Regions from separate parts of the Homo sapiens genome. Here regions 2, 3, 4, 5, 6 and 7 are each linked to region 1. Evidence: promoter capture Hi-C in human tissues and cell types (Jung and others, 2019). All regions are on one chromosome and are shown on one strand. Each heading gives the region's core, a stretch centred on a gene start or on the middle of the fragment in contact. The rest is flanking DNA. Distances are from core to core; before and after follow the strand shown. Region 1 holds the start of SH2D3A (SH2 domain containing 3A). Region 2 has its middle 7.2 kb from the start of MLLT1. Region 3 overlaps INSR (insulin receptor). Region 4 holds the start of MIR6885 (microRNA 6885). Region 5 holds the start of KHSRP (KH-type splicing regulatory protein). Region 6 overlaps LOC124904625 (a long non-coding RNA gene). Region 7 holds the start of SLC25A23 (solute carrier family 25 member 23).

Region 1 (2,634 bases), core at 43-2,542:
GCAGGGAGCCAGCTGCCAGTGCCGCATACCTGAAGCCAGGTGTGTCTTTGCAATGCCTGCGCACTTCCTGTTTGTCACCTGGACCAGGGCTAGCCTCGGTCGCAGAGTTTCCCAACCCCAAGTTCCTGTCTTGTGTCTCCCTTAGTGAGAGTGAAGTTGAGTCAATGGCAAGGTTCTGGTTAGTTTGAGGACACAGGGTGGCCATAGGTCAGCCAAAGGCCAACTAAGCCATCTCCTGCCTCTGAGTCCTTTGGGATCATTTATTCGGGCACGGAAGAGAAGAAACGGGCAGAATCAGGAATCAGACCAAGCATAGAGAGAGGAGAGAGGGGATTATTCATGTTCCAGTTGGATCATAAACATGTGTCCACGTGTGGGGAGGACGTGGAGGGTGGGAACCACCAGCACAGGCAACACAAACACAGATGTAGGCAGGACTCGCTTTTGACGTTGGACGACCATTGCTGGAGCACTTGCTGTGCACCAGGCTCTGTTCTAGGACCTAGAGATACAGTGACTAAGGAGATTAAAGCTCGGCACCACCCTGCCCTCCAGAGCTTGCAGTCGGCTGCGCAAGACAGACTGCAAACGAGCACAAGATGAATGGAGAAGACAGACCATTTCTAAGAGTTATCAATGAAAGTGATAAGCCAGGGAGATGTGATAGAGGAGGCTGGACAGGACAGCCTCTCCTATAAAGTGACATTGGAACTGAGACCTCAGTACAGAAGGAGGCAGTTAGGCAAAGATTTGGAGGAGTCGCCTGGGTGAGGGGTACAGTAAGGGTAAAGGCCTGGAGCTGAGATGGACTTGCTTTTTACATTTTACATCATCAAGGCGGCTGGTGTAGCCGGAATACGATGAGGAAGGAGTAGATAGGAGGGCAATGAGGTTGGAGAGATCAGGAGGAGAGACTAGGCAAAAACTAGTGGACTTTGAATTTTAATCTCTATGACCCAAGGGTTTTAAGTGAAGGAGGGGCCCGATCTGATTCGCCGTTTAAGAGGATCACTCAGGCAAAAATGGAAACAATGGCTTTCTGTGCTGCACAGGAAATACACTTAGAGAGGCACGCCCAGGTGAGCCCGAGCACACCGACACGCGTAACGCACAGCGACCCTCTCATTCGCGAGGCGACCTCTTCTACCCCAGATCCTCCCTGCGAGCCGGTGACCCCACCTGGAAAGAGAGGACTCCCCATCCCAATAATCCTGGTTCTGGATCTGCCCTGGGGCTCCACTCACCTGGGCAGGACCCGCGGGGCTCCCACGAGGCTGGGTCCAGGCGGAAGCTGAGGCTCCGCGGCTCCGGGCTGCTGTCACCCCCGCCCTCCACCTTGCCACCGCCCCAGCCTTCCCAGACCACACCTAGTGGGAACTCAGCCCAGTTACCTGACCACACCTCCTGCAGACCCCGCCCCCTGCGGGCCCCGCCTCAAACTAACTTCCCAGGCCCTTGCTCCGCCCCCTTAAAACCATTTTTTTTGCTACTAGCCACGCCTCCTTCTGCATCGCACCGCTTTCTCCATAGACCCCGCCCACTAGGGGAGCACCACGCATCCTTTCCTGCCAGTGGCCCCTCCCCTTGTATATAGCCACGACCACCGCCGAATGACTACGCCCACCCGCAGCCACCTCCTTCTCAGCCCCGCCCCTTAGGGCAATAGAAGAAATTTCATCCCAACGTTCCCGCCCCTTAGAACCCTGCCCCTCCCTTCCACCCAGGCGGCCCCAAGCACCCATGGCCCTTTGGGACCAGGGCGGGGTGGAGTGGGGTGCCTCTCTCCCCTCCCCGCCAAGGCTCCGGGTCAGGGCAGGGCAACTCCCTCGGGCTCTTACGCCAGGCTGGGGTAGCTGCGGCAGCTGTGACGTAAGGAGGGGTACGCTTCCTCCAGACCGCCCTCCCGGATTTTCCGGAAAGAAGCCCCATTTAGGTGGCGGGTTTTGTGGAGAGACGTCCGGGAAAACGCGACAGCTTCCTTCAGTGACAGCACGCTGGAGCGGGGCGGGACTTTGGTGGAGGTGGAAGGCAAATCATTCAGGTGGTTTCCCAGGTGGGAAGAAGGGTGGGGGGGACTTCCATCGTGATGCCTGGAGACGAACAAGAGAAAAGGTGACAGGGACCTAGTGCAAGAGAGAGGACTCTTTGGCCACGTTTATTGATGAGTTCCTCATATTAACATCAGTCTTGTCTTGTAGAGACAGGGTCTTGCTATATTGCCCAGGCCGGAGTGCAGTGGTGATCATAGCTCACTGTAGCCTCAACCTCCTGGGCTTAAGCTATCCTCCCGCTTCAGCCTTCCAAGCAGCTGAGACTAAAGGTGCACACCACCACACCCAGCTGATTTTATTTTATTTTTTGTAGATGTGGCGTCTTACTATGCTGCCCAGGCTCTGGAACTCCTGGGCTCATGCGAACTTCCTGCCTTGGCCTCCCAGAGCGCTGAGATTACAAGCAAGCATGAACCACTGTGCTTGGCCCCAGTAACCACAGTCTTAAAAGCAGTAGCAGCAGCTAACATTTATTGAGCACTTACTGTACACAAGGGCTGTTCTGTCAACTTGCCTTTATTTTATTTTATTTTATTTTTTGAGATGGAGTTTCACTCTCGTTGCCCAGACTGGAGTGCAGTGG
Region 2 (2,634 bases), core at 74-2,573, 480 kb before region 1:
ATGGCCAGGACTGCATGTTCCATAGATCTGGCAGAAGCTGGTGACAAGTGGGAGCCCCGCCCCTTCTGCATTGGGGTGGGAGCTCCCTGGGTGGTGCTGCAGCCACTAAAGCCATGGCTACAGACCTGGGCATTACTGGGCTCTCAGGCCCAGAGGCAGGCAGGAGCCCCACCCTCCCAGGTGCAGCTGCAGCTGTCCAAACTGCAGCTGCAGATTAGGAGTCCCTGCACTCCTAGGGGCCCGGGAAGGTTCCCCCTGCCCTTGCAGGCTCAGAAATGTCTGCTTCCACTGCTTGGCTTCTCCCTGCTGTTGGTGCCCACTCCATCTCAAAGCAAAGTTGGGGCTGAGCCCCAGAGCTGTTGCAGCCAGGCAGGGTGTGCACAAACTTGGGGCAGCACAGACACACCAGCCCCCTGCTACCTCAGCCCCATCTGGACTTCGGGCACCAACGAGCATAGGAGGGAAGCCAAAGGGGGGGCTGAGGGCAGCTCAGTGCTGACCTGCATGCGCCCCTTGGCACCTATAGCCTGGGCACCATCAACAGCAGCAGGAGGTAGACAGGTTCCTGGATGGAAGGGGATGGGTCCCTGGTGAGGCCCCACCTTCAGGCCAGGGAGGGCCTGAAGGCTAGGGGCTGGGCTACCAGCCCCATGGACTGGAGTGGAAACATGTGATGCCTTTTCCAGGCCTGCTCATGGACCAATCAGCATGCATTTTTTCCCCTCTGAGGCCCATAAAAGCCCTGGGCTCAGCCAAAGCTGGGCAGATATCGGGATGACCAGCTTCAGAGAGCAGCTACCAACTCCAGGGCCTCCTCTCTGCTGAGAGCTGCAGAGACGTCGGGACTACCAGCTGCAGAGAGGAGCAACTCACTCTAAGGCCTCTTCTTTGCTAAGAGCTGGGATGAACATGGGATGACCTGCCTGCAGAGAGAAGCAACTCACCCCAGGGCCTCCTTCTGCTGAGAGCTGCAGGGAATGATGGCACAACCTGCTTGCAGAGAGGAGCTACCCACTCCAGGGCCTCCCCTCTGCTGAAAGCTGGGCAAGCAATGGGACAACCTGCCCGCAGAGAGAAGCTACCCACTCCAGGGCCTCCTCTTCACTGAGAGCCACAGAAAATGACAGGATGGACTGCCTGCAGAGAGGAGCTACCCAATCCAAGGCCTCCTCTGAGCTACTCTGTCGCTCAATAAAGCTCCTGTTCACCTTGCTCACCCTCCACTTGTCCACATACCTCATTCTTCTTGGGCACAGGACAAGAATTCAGGAACTGCTAAACAGCAGGGCTGAAAGAGCTATAAAACCCACAGGGCTGAAACATGCGCCTTGCCATGTTGTGGGTGAAGAGAAGGAGAGAAGAGCTGTGGCCCTTCAGGGACCTAGGAGCTCCCTGAGCCAGGGCTGTGACTCCCTCTTTGGACCCCAGTGTTTCCTATAGTCTCCAAGCTTCTGAGTGCCACTGCATTCCCTGGTGGCAGCTGTGGAAGCTGCTTATGGTGCACCTGGTCTGGCCGCAGCCTCTCAGAGAGCCAGGGCCCCTGCCAGCACCTGGAGCTGTCTGCTCTGCTGCAGCAGCTGGTGTGCCTGGCTGCATGCAGTGGCCGGACCTCATGCTTGCTTGCTTGCTCACACACCCCTCGCCCCTCCATGCCTGGCTTGCCCTTGGCAAGTGTGAGATCCAGGCTAGTAGTGTGAGCTGAGCACAGCCTGCCAGGCCGTGTGGGTGGAATGAGCCCAGTGGGCCCGAGCAAAACTCAGGCAAAGGTGCCACCAGCCACAGAGGTTTCCAACCAGAAATCAACACCCCAAGGATCCTGCAACATTTTTGAGGGCTCGTCCAGGATCTGCAGAAGGGTGAGTGAAAGGGTGAGTAAAAGCAGATCTGCTCTTTCTGTCCCTTTTTAGGAGTCCCTAAACTCAACAATAGCTAAAATGAAAGAAAAACACCAGGCCTCTATTAGCCAGTTAAAATTAACTAGCAGAGATGCTGGACTTAAAACATGGATGATAGCCTTGCTGGGGAGGACACTGTCAATCCCTCATCATCCTCAAGTGTTGAGAATGTTGGGTTTGTTTCAATCCCGTTTCCTTCCATGAGGTCTACCTGTTACATGGGACCAGAAGGAGGTCCTGGGGCAACTGAGGGTATCTGGCTGAGGCTATGCCTCAGTGTTATCCAAAGGCCCCTGGACTAACTCCTGAAACTCAAGTCCCTAAGCGCCCATTAGGGTGTTGTTGGCACTAGGACCTCCAGTCTCCTATCTTTCTTTCTTTCATGGTTGTCAAGGTTCTTATCTCTTCTTTTTTTTTTTTTTTTTTGAGATGGAGTCTTGCTCTGTCGCCCAGGCTGGAGTGCAGTGGCATGGCATGATCTTGACTCCTGACCTTAGGTGATCCACCCACCTTGACCTCCCAAAGTGTTGAGATTACAGGCATGAGCCACTGCACCCAGCTCCTATCTCTTCTTTATATACAACATTAAATTTCTGTGCGCACGCGTGTGTGTGTGTGTGTGTGTGTGTGTGTGTTTGAGACAGAGCCTTGCTCTGTCGCCCAGGCTGGAGTGCAGTGGTGTGATCTTATCTCACTGCAACATCTGCCTCCAAAGTAGTTGGGATTTCAGGCATGCACC
Region 3 (2,634 bases), core at 88-2,587, 430 kb after region 1:
GTGGTGGCTAACACGTGTAATCCCAGCACTTTGGGAGGCTGAGGCAGGAAGATCACTGGAGATCAGGAGTTCGAGACCAGCCTGGCCAACATGGTGAAACCCTTTCTCTACTAAAAACACAAAAATTAGCTGGGTGTGGTGGCGCATGCCTGTAATCCCGGCTACTTGGGGGCTGAGGCAGGAGAATCACTTGAACCCAGGAGACAGAGGTTGCAGTCAGCCAAGATCTCACCACTGCACTCTAGCCTGGGTGACAGAGTAAGACTCCGCCTCAAAAAAAAATAAAAATAAATAAATAAATAAATAAATAAAAGCCAATGTTGGGAAAGACACAGAAAACTGAGGAATTGTGCGGACTTAAGAGACAGCAGCATTCAAATGCAAAGTGTGATCCTAGATTGGAACCTTCGCCTAGGAAAAAAAATCTATATAGGGCAATATTGAGACAACAGATAAGATTATAGAAGACATTGGATTAAAATACTGTATCAATGTTAATTTCCTGATTTTGACAACGGCACCAGTACCATCATTATGTAAGAGAACTTTCTTTCTTTTCTTTCTTTTTTTTTTTTTTTTTGTTTGAGACGGAGTTTCGCTCTTGTTGCCCAGGCTGGAGTGCAATGGCACCATCTCGGCTCACTGCAACCTCTGCCTCCCAGGTTCAAGCGAACCTCCTGCCTCAGCCTCCCGAGTAGCTGGGATTACAGGCATGTGCCACCACGCCTGGCTAATTTTGTATTTTTAGTAGAGACGGGGCTTCTCCAAGTTGGTCAGGCTGGTCTCGAACTCCTGACCTCAGGTGATCCGCCCGCCTCAGCTTCCCAAAGTGCTGGGATTACAGGCATGAGCCACCACGCCTGGCCTCAGAACTTTCTTGTTCTTAGGAAATATCCACTGAAGAATTAAGGAGTATGTATCATGCCTGCAACTAACTCTCAAATAGTTCAGGGGAAAAAAATGTATATAATGTGTGTGCATAAATATATTAGAAAGGTAATAAAACAAGTAGAATAAAACGTAAACAATTGATTGATCTAGATATAATCTTGCAATTTTTCCGTAAGCTTGAAACGACATCAAAACAAAAAGCGACCAATTTGTCCAAAGCAAGGTTAAAAGCCAGAGAAATAGGAGACGCAGCGCTGCATTGTTAAATGACTTGCGCACAAAAATCCAGTCACTCTGACACTTTTTTGTTTGCCTCCCTTTTAAAGTTCAAATTAGTTTGGGTTTTTCTTAATTAAGAAGGTATGTGATAAAAAACAAAACAGAAAATACAGAAACCACCATTAAATGATTCGATAGCTCCACATATGTTAATAACATTTTGTTACATTCTTTCCAAAGCTTAAAACTTTCCGAAGTTTAAAAAAAACTTAAAAAAAAAAAGTTTAAAAACCTTTCCAAAGTTTAAAAAAAAAATACTCAAGATTTATGATTCCAAAAATTACTGCTTTCCAGAAATTTCCAAACGGAACAGTTGCGTCATGGGCCTGCTGGTACATTGACCACAGGGCCCCGCGGCTCTCCCTATAAGTGTGAGTTTTATAAACTCCTTAAAGTAATTTATTTTGTTTCCATTCAAGGCCTTTCTCTCCCACACTGGCCCCAGACCCTGACCTCAGAGGTTCGAGTCCCCGGAGCCAAATTCCTCTAGTTGGAATCTAGTAAATGATTTAATGGCAAAGGGGCAGGGGTTGGGGGCAGCCAAGGAGGTGAACTTTTGACAGCTTCGTGGTCAGCAGCGACGACCGCAGGAGCGCGTGTCCTTGAAGCGGGGAAGCGCCCCTTTTCCTTGCCTGACAATACCGCCCCACACGCGATGACGCCTTTGGAATAGAACTGCGCAGCTCTTTGGAGACATACGGCGCATATAGAGGCTAGAAAGGGAACAGAGTACCAGAGGGCCTTCCCGCTTCGGGAGCCGCAGGCTTCTTCTCTTCGGAGAGAGAGTGAGTGAGTGAGTAAGCGAGTGAGTGAGTGAGTGGGGAGGGAGTGAGTCCGTCCACGGGGGCGGGCCCTCTCCATGCTGCGGATCTCTTAGGAGATATACTGCGCACGCAGAGGCCCGGAAGGAGGCGGGGTCCCAGGGGTCTCCTCGCTAGAGCAGCCCCAGGATTGGCAGGTTCCAGAGTGGGAGTGGGGGTGTGTGTGTGTGTGTGTGTGTGTGTGTGTCAGGTTCCAGAGTGGGAGTGTGTGTGTTTGGGTGTGTGTGTGTGTGTGTGTGTCAGATTCCAGAGTGGGAGTGTGTGTGTGTTTGGCAGGTTCCAGAGTGGGAGTGTGTGTGTGTGTTTGGCAGGTTCCAGAGTGGGAGTGTGTGTGTGTGTTTGGCAGGTTCCAGAGTGGGAGTGTGTGTGTGTGTGTGATTGGCAGGTTCCAGAGTGGGAGTGTGTGTGTGTGTGTGTGTGTGTCCCCAGGATTGGTCGGTTCCAGAGTGGGAGAGAGAGCGAGAGAGAGAGAGAACGAGAGAGAGAGAGAGAGAACGAGAGAGAGTGTGTGCGCGTGTGTGTCTGTGCAGCCCCAGGATTGGTCGGTTCCAGAGTGAGAGTGTGTGTGTGTGTGTGTGTGTGTGTGTGTCCCCATGGTGGGAGTGTGTGTGTGTCCCCATGGTGGGAGTGTGTGTGTGTCCAT
Region 4 (2,634 bases), core at 135-2,634, 380 kb before region 1:
TGGGGTGCCCCATTGTGGCCCTAAGGCCTCCTATCTGTTTCCTCCTGAACTGACAGCTCTGAGACGGCCGAGTGGGGTCTGCCCTGGTTACCCCTGAGTCCCCAGCTCCCAGCACAGGGCCTGGTGATATATCCATGGCAAGGCACCCCATTTCCCTCACTTCTGTCCCCAGCCACCACCCAGCCCACTCACCTCTCCCACTCCTCCTCGGCCTCCTCGGCAGTGAGCGTGCGATGCCGGGCCAGCGGTGTGAAATTGTACCAGTTGTGCACGGGGAAGGCCTCGAAGGCCCCGTCGGGGCACTGGGTGAAGATGTAGTAGGACGTGTTCTCTGTTACGCCTCCCTTCTTGATGCCCTTGAACCTGCAGGGAGCCACGGTCATGGCCTGGCCCATAGGGACCAGCCCCAGCCCCCCCGTGTCCCCCCGGGGCCTGCCTCCTTTATGGCACTTGCCATAGGAGGAAGACCAAGAAATGCCCATGAGGCCTGGGCAGGCCCTTCAACCACCTGGGCCTCGTCAATTTCCACATCTGGGGAACAGGGCCGGCGCACCTACCCTGCAAAGTGCTGGGCGTGTGCACATCGGGATCATTTCTGGAAAGACTGTGTGAGATTATCTCAGGAGAGCCCAACCCTGCAGTCAAACTGTCTACATTTGCCTCCAGCTCTGCTATCTGTGGGCCACACCCGGGAAACTGAGGAGCCAAGTGAGAAGATGGGGCGGGAAGGCATGGCCAAATTTTTTTTTTTGAGATGGAGTCTCGCTCTGGCACCCAGGCTGGAGTGCAGTGGCACCATCTCAGCTCACTGCAACCTCCACCTCCCGGGTTCAAGCAATTCTCATGCCTCAGCCTCCCGAGTAGCTGGGATTACAGGTGTCTGCCACCACACCCAGCTAATTTTTGTAGTTTTAGTAGAGACAGGGTTTCACCATGTTGGCCAGGCTAGTTTCGAACCCCTGACCCCACGTAATCCGCCCGCCTCTGCCTCCCAAAGGGCTAGGATTACAGGCGTGAGCCACCGCGCCCAGCCATGGCATGGCCAAATCTGAAGTGGACACCTGGCCCGGGCCACCATTTCCTCAAGCCTAAACAACTGCCCAGCCTCCTTGAGGCCTCTACCTCATTCTTTTCTACCCCAAAGTTCCGGACAGTCTGGGTGAGTGCCTCTTCCCTGCCTACAGCTTTCCAAGGCTCCGCTGGACCCAGCACATCCTGGCACCCACTGCCCTGTGTGAGCTGCCTGTGTCTGTCACTATCACCCAACTGCTGTGCCTGGAGCACCCTTCATCAACCTAACCTGGACCCCTCCTGTTCTGCCCTCAGTCTGCCCCCTCTGAGAGGTCATCTCAAGTGTCATGAGCTCCCAGGGCTGGCCACCTAAGCTTCCTGCATTGTGGCACTCAGAGCTGCCTCAGAGCCAGGCACAAGCACCAACTCAGTGAACTGTCTTCAAAAACACAACCCCAGGGCCTGGGCAGTGGCTCATACCTATAATCCCAGCACTTTGGGAGACCAAGGTAGGAGGATCACTTGACCCCAGGAGTTCAAGACCAGCTTGAGCAACGCAGCAAGACCCCATCTCTACCAAAAATACAAAAATTAGCCAGGCATGGTGGGGCGTGCCTATAGTCCCAGCTACTCAGGATGCTGAGGTGGGAAGATCTCGAGCCCAGGAGTTGGAGCCTGCAGTGAGCTACGATCGCACCACTGCACTCCAGCCTGGGCAACGGAGTGAGACCCTGTCTCAAAATAAATAAGTAGGCTGGGCACGGTGGCTCACGCCTGTAATCCCAGCACTACGGGAGGCCGAGGCGGGAGGATCGCCAAGTTCGAGACCAGCCTGACCAATATGGTGAAACCCTGTCTCTACTAAAAATACAAAAATTAGCTGGGCGTGGTGGTGGCAGGCACCTGTAATCCCAGCTACTCAGGAGGCTCAGGCAGGAGAATAACTTGAACCTGGGAGGTGTGGGTTGCAGTGAGCCAAGATCGTGCTACTGCACTCCAGCCTGGGCGACAGAGCAAGACTCTGTCTCAAAAAAATACAAGTAAGTAAAATAAGATAACATAAATAAATAAATAAATAAATAAATAATAAAATCCTACAGGGATGGAAGTGCCAGCACTTCCACTGCAGCAGTGGGAATCTGAGGTTCAGAGAGGGTACCCCACAAAGTATGTAAGTTGAGGCCTGGGGATGTGGACTGGTCACTAAGCCGGCACCGCCACCGCCCCACCACTTACTTCCTGCCTGATTTGCCGTTGACCCGGAGCAGCCAGGGCTGGTCCTCGGGCCGGAACTCCTTGAGGACGATGCCGTACTTCTTCCTCCGAGCCTCCTCCCGAAGCTTGCGGTTGAACTCACTGCCCGCGCCCGATTCGGGCATCTCCTCCTCTTGGTAGATTTTCTTGTTGCTCAAGTCCCGCTCCAGCCGAGCCTAGGGGAGCAGGAAGCAAAGCCTCTCAGGGTCCCTGGCTTTGCTTGCGCAGTGCCCCCCTCCAGGAACGCCCTTCCTTGCCCTAGGCCAAGCTCTAGATTCTCAAAACCAACTTACCACTTGGCAACAAGGGAGGAGAACGGTAGCCTTTGACAAATCTGGGTAAAGGGAATTTGGGCGAGCCTTGCGCTCT
Region 5 (2,634 bases), core at 56-2,555, 340 kb before region 1:
CTGACAGCACCAGCTTCCTCCCTTCAAGCTGTCCCAGAATCAGACGGTTCCATGGGCAATAAGACCAAATGCACGCTAGAACCCACCCAACTCCAAGGGTGAGAGAGACGACAGAGGGCCAGAACACAGGCGTTCACTTAACGGGACCTCCCACCTTGGGAGGAGCCAGTCTCTAGCCCCGGAGGCATTGGGACAGCCCAGGAGCCGGTCGGCGGCAAAGTCCTCCCATTCTACCGACCCCCACCCCTCCAGGCCATGGGGAGGCTGCAAATGGAGCTGGAGAGGTCAGTCCTAGCAGCATGTGACACTTCCTTGTCATTACGCCTCAATACACGGGGGTGGGAGACCCTCCCTTCTTTCCCCCAAAGAGACAGACCACGCTTTCAAGCCACCAAAGCATCCAAGAGCCAGTCCCCATGCTCGTCTTCCCCATTTCGCCCAAGTGCTCAGCCCTAGACAGGTCCCCATCCACTTTCCCGACTGAAGAGGAAGGACTGTCCCTCCCACCCCCACAATGTCCCTTTCTCCTAGAGAGGGGACAGAAATGGGACTGGGTTGGGGGCAAACACTGCCCTTTGCCCTGATATGGAGGGGAGAGTAAAGGCCCTCCGCCCGGGAAGGTGGACCCCTGCCTCCAGGCATGTCCTAAGGCCGGGGGGCTAAGGGGGGGGTCCCAAAAGTGCGTCTCCGAGCTCCGGGGCGCCTGCACACCCAGGCGCCGCTCCTGGTGACCCCCAGTGCGCCCCTACTCCCTGCAGGGGGGTCACCCGTTGGGATCCCACTCGAGGCGCAGCGGGAGGGCCAGGCCCCCGCCTACCGCCCACGTGACCCCGCGACGGCCCCGGCCCCCCTCCGCGACCCTGCGCGCGCGCGCGCACGTGACCCCCGCCCCCTCCCCCGCCTGCGCGCGCGCGCGAGCGCGCCCCTCAGGCCCTCGGCCTCCTCACCTGGCGGGCCCGCTGCACGGCGTCGGCGAAAGCGTCCTTGCGGATTCCCGGGCCGCCTCCGCCGGGTGGCTGAGAGGGGCCCCCGGCCGACCCCCCGCCCGGGCCGCCGCCGCCGGGACCGCCGCCGCCCCGGTCCCCCGCGCCTGGCGGGCCCGGCGGAGGGCCTCCCCCGGCGCCTCCGGCTCCCCCGCCCCCGCCGGCGGGCGGCGGCGGCCCGGGCGGGGGTCCTCCCGTGCTGTAGTCCGACATGGCGCGGCGGGGCCGGGCCTGGCGCGGAGGCTGAAGCTGAGGAGGCGGCGGCGGCGGCGGCGGCTCAACGCGGGAACAAGGCCTCGCTCCACACGGCCGCGGAGCACTCTGGGAACCCAGCCGCTGGGAGGACGACGAGGGGGGAGAGAGTCGCCCCTCCCGCCGCCGACGTGACGGACGACTCCGGCGGGCCAATGGGAGGCAGCCGCCGCACCCCGGACACCAATCGCGAGCTCTGTAGGAGGTGGCCAATCGGAGTGCAATGAGGGGCAGTGGGCGGGAGGCTCAGAGTGACTGACAGCTCTCAGAGGCAATAGCTGCGAGCTGCCCGTGCTGGGCGGGCAAATGAAGGAGATCTGAGAAGGCAGGAGGCCCAATGAAACGCGAGTGCCAGATTCGCGGGGCGGCTTCAGAATTAGATTGACGGTTCTGAAGAGTCACGTGGACTGTAAGGCCGGGCCTAGTGGAAGACTCCTATGGACCGGCTGGGTGGGCGTTAGGTTTGATAGTCGTGGACACAAGCCAATGAATGCACGTGAGAGGTGGTGCTTGTAAAGATGGGCAGCCAATTAATCCAATTCCTGACGAGTTCTGGGTGATGAGGTTGGCTTTGGACTTTAATTGCTTCCCTTGTTAACCAGAATCCTTTTCTATCCCTGACTTCTAAGCCAATGGCTGAGCGACATGGGTGGGTGTTCGGTGACTGACACTGGTCTGGACAAATGGGAATGAAGGAAATCAAAGCGCCCACTTTTGGTGGGAGCCAGTGGAAGCGCCGCTGCATTGGGGCGGAGTCGGCCACCAGACAGCGAGGGGATTAGCGGGAACTGTAGTGAATGGCAGCCGACGTGGGCGGTGGCAATCGGCTGCCCGAACTCAGGCCTGATGTCTGGGTTAGCTCACCGGCAGCCTGGTTGGGTAGGCCCGGCACGTGGCCCGCTTGAAGCCTTAGAGATCGAGCGCTTCCGGAGGTGGGGAGGCCGGAAAGCAGGAAACTCGGGATCCCCCGGGCCTTCTTCTCTCTCGACCCCCCATCTAGAGCGTCCAGTTCTCTTGCAGGACTCAAGGAACCAGCCCCACTCACGAGTCCAGAACCGTTCCAACAACCGGGATCGAGGGATCACAGCCTCGATCACACCCCTCACTTCACACCCCTCACTCCCTTCGCCTAAGGCCCTGGGATCCAAGCCTCAAGCTCCTATCCTAGGTCCTCACTTCCTCTCCTGGACACAAATTCCCATTCAGGACCCAGAGGCCCAAGGTCCCCAGCTCCCCTACTGGGTCCAGGGATCTCATGCACCCAGTTCCACTCCTAGGCCCAAGTATCCAGACACGTTCAGCAAAAACCATCTCTTTATTCCTTGTTGTGTGACATGTTCACCATTTCGCCCTGGAGCCAGGACGACCCACAAGGGGCCAGACTGGAGTCCACGTTTCT
Region 6 (2,634 bases), core at 36-2,535, 320 kb after region 1:
ACACCATTGGCCCTCCTGGTTCTCAAGCCTTTGGACTTCACACTGGGGTTTACACTGTTGGCTCCCCTGTTTTCAGGTCTTTGAGCTTGGACTGGAGCAAGACTACCAGCTTTCTTGGTTCTCCAGCTTCCAAACAAATGGCAGATCGTAGGACACCCATAAGCCTGAAGGGACAAAGGAAGAGAACTGCAAGTTGTTGTTCAAGCGAGGAGAGGGCTGCATTCCAGGAGCTGACAGGAGGTCAGTGAGGGGCAACATCCAGCCTCGAGTTCTGCAAGAAATAGTAAGGGTCGGCCAGGCACAGTGGCTCACACCTATAATTCTGGCACTTTGGGAGGCCGAGGTGGGTGGATCACTTGAGATCAGGAGTTCAAGACCAGCCTGGCCAACATGATGAAACCCATTCTCTACTGAAAATACAAAAACTAGCCGGGTGTGGTGGCATGCGCCTGTAGTCCCAGCTATTCAGGAGGCTGAGGCAGGAGAATTGCTTGAACCCGGTAGGTGGAGGTTGCAATGAGCCAAGATCATGCCATTGCACTCCAGCCTGGGTGACAGAGTGAAACTCCATCCCCACCCCCCCACCACCACCAAAAAAGAGAAAGAAATAGCCAGGGCCAGCCCTCCTTGTCCTTCATTCTTCTTATATCATATTTGGGTTCCCCATTTGCCAAACTCAACCAAAAGCCAATAAGGTAAGGGAGTTCGTTGATAGCATTCATAGTAACTAATCATCCCAAGTACAGCAGGGTAGAGGAGGTGAATCTGCTGGGGCGAATGGAAGATACCCAGTATTGGTCACTCCTTTTGCTTCTCAGAATCTACTCATGCCCATCACCTGGATGGAAAGTTCATATCCAAGCCCAGGAATTCTATCAGTTGCTCAGCTACCCTGGGGTGGTGTCCATGCACTGATACTCCCCGATGAAGCCTAACATAGTTGCCAACACCAGTGTTTCCTGTATAGGATGAGGAACAGAGCCATTGGGGAGGAAAGCAAAAGAAATAATTAACCTGGCCAGGCGCAGTGGCTTACCCCTGTAATCCCAGCACTTTGGGAGGCCGAGGTCGGTGGATCACGAGGTCAGGAGTTTGAGACCAGCCTGGCCAACATGGTGAAACCCCGTCTCTACTAAAAATACAAAATTAGCCAGGCACAGTGGTGGGCGCCTGTAATCCCAGCTACTCAGGAGGCTGAGGCAGGAGAATCTCTTGAACCCGGGAGGCGGAGATTGCAGTGAGCCGAGATCATGCCACTGCACTCTAGCCTGGGTGACAGAGTAAGACTTCATCTAAAAAAAAAGAAAAAAGAGAAGTAACCTAAAGGACTTGGTTCCCAGAGGGAAACACTTCCACCAAGAGACACAGTAAGAGTCTCATCGGATGTTAAACTGTGACTTCTATGAGACCAGCACACAAGGAAAGAAGTCACCATACTGACTTAGGTAATTAATGCTATCATCCATAGAATCTGAGGCTGCTGTTACATGATGAGTGCAGGGAGGAAAACATTTGGCATTCACGGAATCCATTGGGATGTCTCTTACTATTCTTTCCCCAATTTTAAAGATAAAAAAATTTTGGCCAGGCGTGGTGGGTCACGCTTGTAATCCCAGCACTTTGGGAGGCCGAGGTGGGCACATCACAAGGTCAGGAGATCGAGACCAGCCTGGCTAACATGGTGAAACCCTGTCTCTACAAAAAATACAAAAAAATTAACTGGGCGCGTTGGCAGGCGCCTGTAGTCCCAGCTACTTGGGAGGCTGACGCAGGAGAATGGCGTGAACCCAGGAGGCGGAGCTTGCAGTGAGCCGAGATCGCGCCACTGCACTCCAGCCTGGGCAACAGAGCGAGACTCTGTCTCCAAAAAAGAAAAAGATAAAAAAATTTCACCAGCTATGTCCTGAGAAGGGCATGGTGAAGACCCCGTAGGCATAAGGATCTGGAGCAGCTCTCCAGGTAAGCCACCTAGACCAGCAGGATCTAGGTGAGAAGGAAATCTAGAATTTTCACCCTAGTCAAGGGTAAAGGGAATCTGGAAGGTGCAAGTAAAGGAGTGTGATAAGCATCAATTGCATCTCTGAGACTTGTTCAGGTGGAAAGGGCTGTCTACAGTTTGTCCCACTGATCTTCCTCTTGTCAGTTTCTCCAGGCAACGGGACCAACCTGGATCCTGAGGGCACTTACTTTAAGAATCCTGGGGCCGGGCACAGTGGCTCACGCCTGTAATCCCAACACTTTGGGAGGCAGAGGCGGGCAGATCACTTGAGGTTAGGAGTTCGAGACCAGCTTAGCCAACATGGTGAAACCTCATTTCTACTAAAAATACAAAAAATAGCTGAGTATGGTGGCACATGCCTATAGTCCCAGCTACTCCAGAGGCTGAGGCAGGAGAATCACTTGAACTCAGGAGGCAGAGGTTGCAGTGAGCCAAGATGGTACCACTGCACTCCAGCCTGGGCAACAGAGGGAGACTCTGTCTCAAAAACAAAACAAACAAAATGAATGCAGGGCATCTGAGTGGCACACATGGTGGACCACAGTAGGTACAGTGGTGGCACTACCCAGCAAAAGAGCTCTTCACCCAATGTGCTAGAAGCCAATACTATGACATCAGATTTTTGAGAAAAGGAA
Region 7 (2,634 bases), core at 99-2,598, 310 kb before region 1:
AGACGTCACCCCACTTCTCCCTCAGTCAGCTAACTTCTCAGCCAGATCCCTACAGCCACCACAGGTCTGTGCGGTGGGTGTGAGTGGTCTAGTTTTCCTGGTGAGCAAACTGAGGCTCTGCAAGGTCAAGTCACCAGTTCAAGGTCACAGAACCAGGAAATGGTAACCTCAGTTCTCATCTGTAAAGCCTGTCCTTCCAGCTGTCTCTTGTTTTTAGTTTTTGTTATTTTTTTAGGTATCTCATTCCTGTTGAACCCAGCTGCCTCTTAAAAAACCCTGTCCACATGGGGGACCCAGGGGTTCCCTTTGGAGGAAGCCCTGGGCGATGTGGGGCAGGAGAGAACCAAGCGGAGTGGCTGAGGCCTTGGTTTTTCCCATTTGGGAAGTGGGAGGTTGGACTGCTCTCAGGGTTGCTGTGGTTCTCTTAGAGCGATCTGGGGCTACAGGTGTGGGAAGGACCTGCAAAGTGGAGGTGGGGGCAGCGGGAGGAAAGTCTTGTTATAGGTGCATTCCCAGCTGCGGGTGACCGCAGACAGGATTGGGTCCCTGGCTGGGGCAGCCCGGGACAGTGAGCCAGGCCCGTGAACGGCCCATGAAAGGGCAGGCCAGGGAATGTAAACACAGGGATCGGGGCAGCTGCAGGCCAGGGCAGTAGGTGCCCAGAGGATGGAGGGTGTGTCTCCTGGAGGTGAGAGCAGGGCACGTCATGGGCTGTGCAGTCTGGAGGAGGGTGTGTCCCGGGCAGTGGGCAGGAAAGCGCCCCCATCTCTTCCCAGGCAGACGCCCCCTGCCCCGCAGCAGGGGGATCGGGTGTTGGCCGCGGAACTGCAGGCTTGGGGCCTCGGCGTCCCTGTCTTGAGCGATCCCGTTAGGCCAAACACGAGTGGGTAGGGGGAACGAGACAGAGACACAGGTTCTGGAGTCCAGCCACAGGTAGTCCCTGGTGGCTCCGGCCGCCCAGTTCAGGGGCTTGGGTAACCGGGAGCGGGCGGGGCCGGGAGGGGAGGAGGTCCCTGGGGGTGGGGGTACCTGTTGGGCGCCGGGGTCTGGGTTGCCCCCGCCCAGCCTGGCCAGCCCCTGGCGCAACTCGTGCACGTCCACGCGGCCATCCTTGTTACTGTCCAGCTCCTCGAACAGGCGACCCCAGCGCTGCCGCCGCTCCGCGTCGCCCGGGCTCCCCCGCATGGCGCCCGCCCGGGGGGGAGGGGAGGCCCGGCAGCGGCGGCCTCAGTGGGGGCTTCGCGGCTCCCCCTCCCCCCCCGGGACCCCGCAGGGTCAGCTCCCGCGGCCGCCGGCTCCGCAGCCTCCGCGCAGTCCGCTCGGCTCTGGCACTTGCGGGAGGTGGTGACGGCTAGCCGTCGCCGCCCGCGCCAGAACTTGCGTCTCCTCCCCCGACCTGCATTGGGGGGAGGGGACCGAGGGCGGAGCTGGGGGCGTGGGGAGGGAATGTCTGGGATGGTCTGGTATTGCACAGCCGAGGAACACCAGAGTTCCTTCTGGGAAGACGGGCTAGGGAGCTCAGTGGTCTCAGGTCTGGTTTCAGAGTTCCGCCTCTGCGTGCCTCAGTTTACCCTTTCCCCCTTTGCCCAAGGGGGCAAGGTAGAGCGCTGTCGGGGATTGGGTTTCATAATCCCCTTCCACTTGACCTCCCCGCCACACCCACTAATCTTCAGGAACTCAAGTTCTCGCTTTTCCCAGACGCACGCAAGAACCGTGCACCATCTCGCTCGCTCTCTGCCCGCCCGCGCCTTACACCTTCCCCGCTCGGCCGCAGAAACAGAAGATCCAGGAGCGATGCTCTCCCACTGTCCCTTCTTCCCGCCCGCGCGCTTCCTTTCTCGGTTCCCACTCTGACTGGGAAACAGAAAATCAACGCGCGGCGCGGCTGCAAAGTCGGTTTCCTATTGGTCAGCGCCTCCTGGGCTGAGCCCGCCCGCCCCGCCTCTTCTCCCACCTAGGCGGGGCCTCCCCGCAGACCCCCGACTGCCTCCAGCCCGCAGTCCCACCGCCTGCCAGGAGATCTTAAAGGGGCCGCGGCCGCAATCAGACGCTGAGCGGCGTGGGGAGGGGGTGGCTCAGTGACCCGGGCGCGGGGTTGAGGATCCCAGTGGTCGAGCGCTGGAGGCAGGGCCCCAGCCTGTCGCACTCGCTGCACCTGCGGAATGTCCCTACTGCTAGTTTCGGGCGCAGTTTCTCGATCCACCATTAGGGGGAAGGGAGCCCAGACCACTTGACAGCGAATACTCGATAACAAATCTCACTTTGATTCAGTGCTTTGCACATGCCAGGGCTTTTACTCACCTCTCGAGTCGTCTTTGCCAAAACCCTATAAGGTAGGTGGTACTGGCGTTCGCACTTTGCAGATAAGGAAGCGGAGGTTAAGTCATTCTCCCCAGTCCTGATGACCACTAAGGGGCAAAACAGGGTTTAAAGAGATCTGGGATCCTTAACCATCACTCTATACCCTAGAAAGAATTAATTATCTTTTTTTTTTTTTTTTTTTTGAAACGGAGTTTCGCTGTTGTTGCTCAGGCTGGAGTGCAATGGCGCGATCTCGGCTCACTGCAACCTCCGCCTCCCGGATTCAAACGATTCTTTTGCCTCAGCCTCCCGAGTAGCTGGGATTACAGGCGC

The links. Contacts are between HindIII fragments. The study calls those that stand out against the background at their distance.
Region 2: a contact is called between a fragment that was not itself captured here and the fragment with the promoter of SH2D3A in region 1, in 2 of the 25 tissues and cell types used here (IMR-90 fibroblasts and lymphoblastoid cells).
Region 3: a fragment that was not itself captured here is called in contact with the fragment with the promoter of SH2D3A in region 1 in 1 of the 25 tissues and cell types used here (lymphoblastoid cells).
Region 4: a contact is called between a fragment that was not itself captured here and the fragment with the promoter of SH2D3A in region 1, in 1 of the 25 tissues and cell types used here (spleen).
Region 5: the fragment with the promoter of KHSRP here is called in contact with the fragment with the promoter of SH2D3A in region 1 in 4 of the 25 tissues and cell types used here (IMR-90 fibroblasts, dorsolateral prefrontal cortex, heart right ventricle and 1 more).
Region 6: a fragment that was not itself captured here is called in contact with the fragment with the promoter of SH2D3A in region 1 in 2 of the 25 tissues and cell types used here (lymphoblastoid cells and thymus).
Region 7: a contact is called between the fragment with the promoter of SLC25A23 here and the fragment with the promoter of SH2D3A in region 1, in 2 of the 25 tissues and cell types used here (bladder and spleen).

What each region holds. Positions count from the first base shown.
Region 1 is chr19:6,766,143-6,768,776 of GRCh38, forward strand. SH2D3A (SH2 domain containing 3A) reads right to left here and starts at 1,293. Exons shown (of 10, transcript NM_005490.3): 1 at 1,245-1,293. RefSeq lists a silencer at 1,772-1,831. The HindIII fragment of the contact is 38,619 bases long and covers 1-2,634 here.
Region 2 is chr19:6,285,867-6,288,500 of GRCh38, forward strand. No RefSeq gene overlaps it. Among named protein-coding and RNA genes, the nearest start is that of MLLT1, 7.2 kb to the left of the region's middle. The HindIII fragment of the contact is 3,632 bases long and covers 1-2,634 here.
Region 3 is chr19:7,195,369-7,198,002 of GRCh38, forward strand. The region is part of intron 2 of INSR (insulin receptor); the gene reads right to left. Among named protein-coding and RNA genes, the nearest start is that of INSR, 98 kb to the right of the region's middle. RefSeq lists enhancers at 1,968-2,167, 1,980-2,634. The HindIII fragment of the contact is 6,200 bases long and covers 1-2,634 here.
Region 4 is chr19:6,387,197-6,389,830 of GRCh38, forward strand. GTF2F1 (general transcription factor IIF subunit 1) reads right to left here. Exons shown (of 13, transcript NM_002096.3): 4 at 2,248-2,441; 5 at 193-363. MIR6885 (microRNA 6885) reads right to left here and starts at 2,507; the gene lies at 2,442-2,507. RefSeq lists an enhancer at 1-336. The HindIII fragment of the contact is 4,380 bases long and covers 1-2,634 here.
Region 5 is chr19:6,423,506-6,426,139 of GRCh38, forward strand. It overlaps KHSRP (KH-type splicing regulatory protein), which reads right to left and starts at 1,306. Exons shown (of 19, transcript NM_001366299.1): 1 at 948-1,306. The coding sequence starts at 1,196. It overlaps SLC25A41 (solute carrier family 25 member 41), which reads right to left. Exons shown (of 7, transcript NM_173637.4): 7 at 2,532-2,634. RefSeq lists an enhancer at 1,614-1,733. The HindIII fragment of the contact is 26,210 bases long and covers 1-2,634 here.
Region 6 is chr19:7,089,288-7,091,921 of GRCh38, forward strand. LOC124904625 (a long non-coding RNA gene) reads right to left here. Exons shown (of 3, transcript XR_007067110.1): 3 at 1-164. Among named protein-coding and RNA genes, the nearest start is that of ZNF557, 21 kb to the left of the region's middle. The HindIII fragment of the contact is 5,869 bases long and covers 1-2,634 here.
Region 7 is chr19:6,458,444-6,461,077 of GRCh38, forward strand. SLC25A23 (solute carrier family 25 member 23) reads right to left here and starts at 1,349. Exons shown (of 10, transcript NM_024103.3): 1 at 1,030-1,349. The coding sequence starts at 1,185. RefSeq lists silencers at 1,101-1,160, 1,211-1,350, 1,861-2,040. The HindIII fragment of the contact is 25,958 bases long and covers 1-2,634 here.